3 separate regions of the Homo sapiens genome follow, and regions 1 and 3 are each linked to region 2. The links are contacts of gene promoters, found by promoter capture Hi-C in blood cells and fetal thymus (Javierre and others, 2016). All regions are on one chromosome and are shown on one strand. Each heading gives the region's core, a stretch centred on a gene start or on the middle of the fragment in contact. The rest is flanking DNA. Distances are from core to core; before and after follow the strand shown. Region 1 overlaps DNAJC1 (DnaJ heat shock protein family (Hsp40) member C1). Region 2 holds the start of MLLT10 (MLLT10 histone lysine methyltransferase DOT1L cofactor). Region 3 overlaps DNAJC1 (DnaJ heat shock protein family (Hsp40) member C1).

What was found. Contacts are between HindIII fragments. The CHiCAGO score rates a contact against its expected background, and 5 or more counts as called.
Region 1: a contact is called between a fragment that was not itself captured here and the fragment with the promoter of MLLT10 in region 2, in 1 of 17 cell types (endothelial precursors). The highest score is 6.7, in endothelial precursors.
Region 3: a fragment that was not itself captured here is called in contact with the fragment with the promoter of MLLT10 in region 2 in 7 of 17 cell types (non-activated CD4 T cells, naive CD4 T cells, erythroblasts and 4 more); the score reaches 8.0 in non-activated CD4 T cells.

The regions. Positions count from the first base shown.
Region 1 is chr10:21,927,251-21,930,000 of GRCh38, reverse strand. It overlaps DNAJC1 (DnaJ heat shock protein family (Hsp40) member C1), which reads left to right. Exons shown (of 12, transcript NM_022365.4): 2 at 860-961; 3 at 1,449-1,495. Among named protein-coding and RNA genes, the nearest start is that of DNAJC1, 75 kb to the left of the region's middle. The HindIII fragment of the contact is 801 bases long and covers 901-1,701 here.
Region 2 is chr10:21,532,852-21,535,636 of GRCh38, reverse strand. MLLT10 (MLLT10 histone lysine methyltransferase DOT1L cofactor) reads right to left here and starts at 1,405. Exons shown (of 23, transcript NM_001195626.3): 1 at 1,117-1,405; 2 at 833-992. The coding sequence starts at 992. RefSeq lists enhancers at 1-407, 1,123-1,836 and silencers at 468-557, 698-1,037, 1,148-1,217, 1,228-1,757. The HindIII fragment of the contact is 10,036 bases long and covers 1-2,785 here.
Region 3 is chr10:21,956,976-21,960,004 of GRCh38, reverse strand. All of the region lies in intron 1 of DNAJC1 (DnaJ heat shock protein family (Hsp40) member C1), which reads left to right. Among named protein-coding and RNA genes, the nearest start is that of DNAJC1, 45 kb to the left of the region's middle. The HindIII fragment of the contact is 7,617 bases long and covers 1-3,029 here.

The DNA.
Region 1 (2,750 bases), core at 52-2,551, 390 kb before region 2:
GTCTCAAAAAAAGTTTTAAACCCTACTTGACAGTGTATTCTTTGTTATTATTATGCATTTTATACTGGCCATGTAAAAATGATGTTGTCTGATTTTACCTGTGCACACAGGATTATATAAAATGTAATTTTAATATCCACTTAATCTAAGTACTGAACCACGGTAACCTTTTAAATATATTTAAACTATACAAGTAATACATAAATATTGGGCAAATTTATTTGTATGAACCAGACTGAGGAGGCTGGCCAACATTGAAAATACCCTTTAAAGTACTAAGTAAATAAGTATAGTATATTTAACTCTTTCTAATGATAATAATTTTTGATAAATGCTAATTTAACTCCCTTCAGATAGGCATGCTTTTTGACATGTGAAAGTGAGATTCCATAGGTTGTTGCTGAGATGATAAACTCAATATAAATAATAGAGAAACCATATGGTTAGCCCGGGATTCAGAAATTGGCTTTAACATTTGCCAGTAAATAAAGAGTTTCTTTGAAGGCACACCGATGTATTAATTTTTAATTTGTTTCTTTTTGATCTCTTAATTACTGAAAAAGATTTATTGGTTAATTTTAGGAAGGCAAGTGTTTGAAAAGTTTCGCCAAATACTGTCTTCTTTAAATGACTGTATGGTAATGAAAAGTTAAGAGGAGAGCCAAATTAGATTGAATAATTGTTCAGTCATGTGGGTCAGGCTTGTTGCATAGCCTGGTTGTTAAGACTGATTGCTCAAATTACATTGCCTGGGGTCCTGCACTTGGTTGGCTGTCTTCTCAGATCTTAACAAGGTTCTGGGAATTTCTTTTTCTGACAAAGTTTGCTTTGTATTTTCCCCTCCCCCTACCACCTCCAGGATGCATCATCTGCAGACATCAGAAAAGCATATCGTAAGCTTTCACTAACTTTACATCCAGACAAGAATAAAGATGAAAATGCAGAAACTCAGTTTAGACAAGTAAGTGAAATATGCTATTATATATATATTTTGTGACAAATGTATTAACATGTCGATGGTAGAAATATTCACTTATATATGGAATATTTTCATTTGAAAATGAGGTAGTAGTTTAAAATATAGTGTATATTTTTTTTCAAGTTTCTACAAAATGCATTTTTACTATTTTGTATTAGCATCTCTAAATTCTTGGAGGGTCATAATTGTCATAATTTTCTTGTCTAAATTACAGCTTTTGCTTCTAAATGCACATTTTAAGATAAGTATTACTTTTGTAACTGTCACAAAGATTTATTTTGATATCAAGCATTTTTAATCTCTTAAGGTACTACCAAAACATAGTGTTACTTATAAAGGAGATTTCATCTGTTTATTGTATATATAGGCACATAGGATTTTCTGCATGTGTATTGTAGTGCCTTCACCCTCCTATGTGATTTCTTATAGTTGAGAGTATTTTTATTTTAAAGTAATGCTTTTATTTTAGTTGGTGGCCATTTATGAAGTTTTAAAGGATGATGAACGAAGGCAGAGGTGAGTGTTCATTTCTGCTTTTGAATTAAGATGTTATAGTTTCATGCTACAGTTTATAAAGAATTAAGTCTTCTTAAACATTTTATTATTATGTTAGCATTTTATTTTTGTTCCTTCCGAGAAATGCAGTGTTTTAAAAATGTGTGTTTGAAGCAGAGTTAATTTTATTGAAAGTATTCACTAGATTGATTTGATACATACAAGCTTCAGGATTTTGAGTCATAATGTTAGCAAGTCCGGGCTTCCTTAATACGACTTTTAACATGAGTGTTTATGCCCTGGGAGATACAAATACTGCCTGAATTCAAATAAATGTCCATTCCTTCCCATATGTCAGTAATAGCTCCTATCTGTGCCTGATGCTTGGTGCTTTTCCCCCCCATTCCTTAAATGTTTGAATTAGACTGTAGTGATAGTCAAGTTAGTACTCTTTCTTGATATTTCCTCACTCTCAGAATAACCCAGTTATATAAGCTTCTGTAAGCCTGTAGAAGAAAGAAAACTTTGCCTCTTGCATCTATTTCTTTTGCCTCCTTCCCTTCCTTTACTCTGCTCCGGCAATTCTGCATTCAGGGTTAAACTTCAGAGTGGAGGTAGCCCCTCACTCTAAGACTTCTCTGTGCCCCTTTCAGAAGACTGGCAATATATTTATGTAGTAGTTTATAATGCCAGTGACTTAAGAGGAGATTACACAGAGGCCCCTTTCCTCTACTCCTACAGAATGTATGGAATGTAGACATCATTTCAGCAGCCTTCTAAGTTTTTTAAGTCAGACCACAACACATACGCACACACACACACATAACTAAAACAATAGTTTCACAAGATATTTCTTATTGCATGTTAAACACATTATTTTCTATTCTAGGCTAGACTAGTCTTTTGGTGTTTTTTATTTATTTATTTTTTAAAAATGTTGGTTGTGGTTCACTAAATTCATTTCATGAGACACTAGTGGACCACAATCCAAAATTTGAAAATGTTCTACGATACAAGAGTACCTGTAAAAAACAAAACAAAACAACACCTGGCTATTTGACATTTAGGCAAAAGCCAGCCTAAATATCTGTGTCCTTCACTAGGGGGGTAATACATCTCCAGACAACCCTATAAATTGTGCTATGTTACATTCTGAATCTTTCCTCAAATGTATTATCTGGAATTAGTCTGTATCCTAAAATGTTAGCTACCATTCTTGATTCTCATCTTAACCGTTTAATTTGAATACCTCTGCTTGTCAGATTGCAAAGCACAG
Region 2 (2,785 bases), core at 156-2,655:
TTCAAAGGCCAGAAAAGTATCTTACTAGTGTCCTCGGCCTTCTTGTATATCCAAAAACCTCATCAATTGTTAACAACCAGAAATAAACTAAGAGGCTCCCCAAAAGTGACTTGGCACCGCCACCTCTTCAGCCACCTAGGCTGGTGGTGGCCTGCCGCGGCCACCCCACAGGCGCTGCAGCAGCCCCGCCACTCCCGCATGGTCAGCAACGGACTCCGCCATCTCCTCCGCAGACAGCTACCGGGCGGCGGCGGCAGGGCCCGAGCCTTCTGGCTCGGGGTGCAACGGGCCCCGCATCCCTCCCCATCTAAAGAGGCAAGGCGACCCCCAGCCTCCCCACACTGGCGCCGCGTTCCCGAGCCCGTCTCCACGCCACAGGAAGTCTCCAAACACTGCGGCAGACAGGCGGCTGCAGGCCAGGGGAGAAGAGGGCGCTCCACTCTCCCAAACCCACCCCCGTGGCCCCGGGAACCCCGGGAAGGGCGCGCACCGCCCCCGCCCCCGCCCCCGCCCCCACCCCGGCCCAGATCTCGAGGGCGCGGCCGCCGCCCTGCCCCGCCCCGCCCCGCCGAGTCAGCAGACCCCGGCCCCAGGCGCAGGCGGCGGCCGAATGACACTTGAGAGAGTGAGAGCGGAATCACATGACAGTCCGGGCCACACGCACTTTCTCCCACATGCGCGGCCCACACCCCCCGCGCCCCGCCGCGGACCCTCCGCGTCCCTCCCGCGGCCGCGGCACGGGGCGGGGGCGCCGGCGGTTGCGGCCCAGGTGGGGGCGGCGGTGACCGTTGGGCGCAGGCCGGCGCGCCCCGGCGGGCGGTTGGGTGTTTACCTTGATGCACCGCGACGCTGCAGCCGTGCCCGTCGCAATAAACCAGCGGGTTCTCGGCCCAGCCTCTCTCGTCTGAGCAAACGCAACAGCCTCCAATCATCTCCTTCATACTATGGGAGACCTCGTCCTCCAGTGACACGGGCCGGTCGCTAGAGACCATCTAAGAGGGAGTTGGGGGGACCATTAAAAAACACATGCAAGCCGATTAGTGCTTCCCCCCCACACAGCCCCCCGAGCCCGCCCCGGCGCCCCCCGCCCGGCCCGGCAGCCCACCGCTCGCTCACTCGGGCTTTGCCGCTCAGTCACTCACGTTCCGCACAGGAGTCAGGAGCCATGTCCTTGCTGATTCCCCCCACCTCCCCTCCACCGCCTCCTCCGCCTCCTCCTCCTCCTCAGCGTCTTCCCTCCCCACCTCCACCCGGCCGCTAACGCGGGCGCCCGGAGAGGGCACACATAATCAAGAGGGCCTCCGCACAGGCGCACTGGGGGGAGGGGGGGCTCCCGCTGGGCCAGGGGCAGCGAGGGAGGGGAAGGGGGCTGCGCTTCCTCCTCGGAGCGTCACTTGGCGTGCGCGCCCGTCCTGCGGCCGGCGTGAGGGAGGAGGCCTGGGCGAGGCTAGCCCTGCGTGCGCGCTGCCGCGGCCTGTTGGCTGCCCCCGGCCTACCTCCGGGGCCCCGTCCCCCTCCCCCGCGCCGCTCGCCGCCGCCGAGGTGTGCTGGGGGTGGGCGCGAGGGGAGCCGGCGGCGCGCGGAGGCCGGAATGAACGGGCGCGGGGGCGCGCACGCGGGGGCGGGGACGTTAGGGCCGCCCTCTGCAGCGCTGGTGGCGCGGGCCGCGTGTGAGCGTCGGGAAGAGGCCTGGGAGGTGGCGGGGGAGGTGGACGCCCAGGGCTGGGAAGGGGTTTTCTCAGAATCGCCAGAGGGGAGTCCCCGGGGGCATCATCTCCGTGCCCTGGGAACCTACCTGCTGGCCTTTTCCTCCAAGACTGGCCCGTGGAAAACGAGGGTGGGGCGAGTGTGCCAGCTTCCATGAAGGGTGTAATGAAGCATGGCTTCCTGCAGTTGGCCGCGCTAACTTCACAGTGCTGCCGCAGCCACTCCACCCATTAAATTCACGTCCTGGACTCTTCCCAAAGTTCACCCGCTGGAAGTCCTACCAAATCTGCCGCCCATTTTCGCACTACGTGGGCCCCAATGACAAACGAAAGTGTATTCCAGGCTGAAGGTCAAAAGCCTGTGTTAGGGCTGCACTCGGAGAGGGAACGCCAAGGCGCCCCTCAGCTCGGTGTGCAGGACAAATGGTGGTTTATCCGGAATTAGCAATATAATACGATGATCCGGAAAATGCAGTTGTATTACACCAAAAGGAAGAAGGAACTCTAGCCCTCCTAGTCAGTCGCTAAAACATAATTAACGCCATCAGACAGTGGCGTCCAGTTTTGATGGAGGATTCCTCTGATCCGGGTCTTTTCTCCAAATTTATACTTGGAAATGTGAGGTCATTTAAAAGTGGCAGAAAGATGAGAGCTCCCACCTCACAAACAAATGGAAAATGGATTAGGCCTATCTGCATAGATTAATTAGCTGGATGCTGAGCACTTTTAAACTAAAATCTTCCACTGTCTGCCTATTCCTTATGCATCCGTAAAGCCCAATATTGATGTTTAAGCAAAAAATGTCTAATTAGAAAAGTTTCGCATGAAATCAGAATTATGCATAGATTGTTTAAATGACAAGCCCAGTTAAAAGGCGAATTCATGACTTTTGATTAATACCTTGCAGGTACAAAATGGTTCTTTATCAGCAATTCGCATTATAAATGTGCTGATCTGGAAGATGCACTTTCACAGTGCTAAAGCATAGAGAACCCAAGTTCTCCTAGTCGGTCGCCAAAAGATAATATAATGGTTTGGGCTTTAAAAGCCTTCTAAATGTTCTTCTGATAAAGGGGGGT
Region 3 (3,029 bases), core at 201-2,700, 420 kb before region 2:
AAGGGTGTTAGTATTCAGATTCTGAGTATGCTTTTGATAGTAGACCCAACAAGACTTATTAATGAATTGAATGTGGACTGTGAGAGAAAGAGGAGTCAAAAGTGACACCAAAATTTTTGGGAGATGGAGTTACATTTGGAGATAACATTACAGATTTTAGGAGATCTGTATAAAATGGATTTCTCTCTTCTTTTTTTTTTTTTTGTTTTTGTTTTTTTTGAGATGGAGTCTCCCTCTGTCGCCTAGGCTGAAGTGAAGCGGCACTATCCCGGCTCACTGCAACCTCTGCCTCCCAGGTCCAAGTGATTCTCCTGCCTTGGCCTCCCGGGTAGCTGGGACTACAGGCACCTGCCACCAAGCTCAGCTCATTTTTGTATTTTCAGTAGAGACAGAGTTTCACCATTTTGGCCAGGCTGGTCTCAAACTCCTGACCTCAGGTGATCTGCATGGCTTCCCAAAGTGCTGGGATCACAGGCATGAGCCACAGTGCTTGGCCGGATTTCTCATCAGTGTTTTAAAAATGTATTCCACATTCAGGAGAAACTAAAACATCTCGAGGATATAATATGTTCAGTGTGGCTGGGCGCAGTAGCTCATACCTGTACTCCTAGCACTTTGGGAGGCTGAGGCAGGCAGATCACTTGAGGTCAGGAGTTCAAAACCAGCCTGGCCAACATGGTGAAACCCCGTCTCTATTAAAAATACAAAAAAAATTAGCCGGGCCTGGTGGCAGACACCTGTAATCCCAGCTACTCAGGAGGCTAAGGCAAGAGAATTGCTTGAACCCGGAAGGCAGAGGTTGCAGCAAGCCAAGGTCTCACCACTGCATCCTAGCCTAGGTAACCGAGCGAGACTCCATCTCAGAAAAAAAGAAAAAAGTTCAGTATGTTGGATTTCTTGGTGTTTTGTTTTCCTGTTAAACTATCAGGATATTTAGTGGAGTTGAACTAGAAAGGCCAATTCCTCATACCTTCCATGCATTCTGTACTGAGAAACCGGGCTGTTGAGAGTAAAGATTGTTAAATATTAAAAGAGCATAAACTGGTAAAAGGAAGAGAAGGAAGGGTAGGAAGTAAAGAAGGAGAAGGAGCTCTGTTATATTCAAAATGTTCTTACCAAATGAACAAAGCATGTTAATAACTTTTAGAAAGAAGTTCAACAGCAAAATTTTTCTGCAAAAAAAATAGTGATTTTTTTTTCTGCCAAATCTGACGTTTAAATATATCAGAAAAACCTCATCCCTTCCATTTATATGAAATGCCTAGAAAAGGCAAATCTGGGCCAGGCGCGGTGGCTCACTCCTGTAATCCCAGCACTTTGGGAGGCCGAGGCAGGTGGATCACGAGGTGAGGAGATCGAGACTGTCCTGGCTAACACGGTGAAACCCCGTCTCTACTAAAAATACGAAAAATTAGCTGGGCGTGGTGGCACGCACTGTAGTCCTAGCTACTGAGAAGGCTGAGGAAGGAGAATCGCTTGAGCCCAGGAGGCGGAGGTTGCAGTGACCGAGATCGCGCCACTGCACTCCAGCCTGGGCAACAGAACGAGACTCCGTCTCAAAAAAAAAAAAAAAGACAAATCTGTGGAGACAGGTACAAGGAATCTTTTTGGGTTGATGGAAATATTCTAAAACTAGATTATCGTGATGTTGCAGAACTATATAAATGTACTAAAAATCACTAAACACTTAAAACAGGTGACTCTTATGGTTTGTAAATTATACTTAAATAAAGCTGTTAAAAATACATAAATACCAGAAAGAAAGAAAAAAACCTTCATTTCTCAATCATTTGGATTAAAATTTTATTAGTATTATATGGAGAAATTTTGGTTGAACTTTTTAACTCCATTATAGTTTTAGTTTCAGGTTTCTACTTATATGTTTCTGTTTTAAAATAGTATATATTTAATACAATGGTATTCTCAATTATATGCTTCTAATAAAAAGCCAAATCCTTGGTAAAACCAGTGTTAGGTAGCATATCTTATATGAAACTGAATATTACAGTAAAGCCCAGTAGAGAAATATGTGAATGGACAGAAGCAGGTATTATGAGCCTGTTTTAATATAAGAAAGGTATTTTGCTTAATAATAGTACATTAAGTTTGCCGTCACTTAATGTACCATCACTTAAAGAAAGTGGAACATTTCTACATGTACACATATATGAAAGTAAGCACATTTTTAAAAAAATATTGAGAAGTATATGTACCAAACTGATGATAATTACTTCTGTTGAGAGAATGAGGCTTTGAAGAAGAATGTATGTATTTATTTATTCATGTGTTACTTGTGTAATTGACAGAAAGCAAAGTATAAAGAGACTAAATAACTGAAAAGGAAAAAAGATGAGTAAAGCCTAAATAATGGCCGTGGTGATAGAGAAGAAAGTAAACACATGAAAAATGTTTAGTTGCCAATTTGATATAGTACAGAACTATTGCAAAGATCAAATATGAATGGGTAAGTAGATTATACTAAATTAACTCAGTGGAGCTATAACATTACTTGACCATAAACATAAACATTACTTTATTAAATTTATGAAGTAAAATGGAAACTTTTATATATACTGACAAAAGGAAGGTACAATATAATATGTACAATTTATTTACAGCAGTAAAAACAAATAGGATAATAGAGGAAAAGAATTAAGATGACAATGAAAGTATTAATGATAAAGTTAAGTGAATAGAGGAGGCTTTATTCTTCCATGCTTTCTTTAAAGGGTTTCTGAATAATCAGAAATAAGAAACAGTGCTATAATCAGGGATTGGCAAAATACATATGGTTAAAGTTATTACAAAGAATTCTGGTCAGGCGCAGTGGCTCACACCTGTAATCCCAGCACTTTGGGAGGCCGAGGCGGGTGGATCACGAGGTCAGGAGTTCAAGACCAGCCTGGCCAAGATGGTGAAACCCTGTCTCTACTAAAAATACAAAAATTAGTCAGGTGCGGTGGCGGGTACCTGTAATCCCAGTTCCTTGGGGGGCTGAGGCAGGAGAATCACTTGAACCCGGGAGGCGG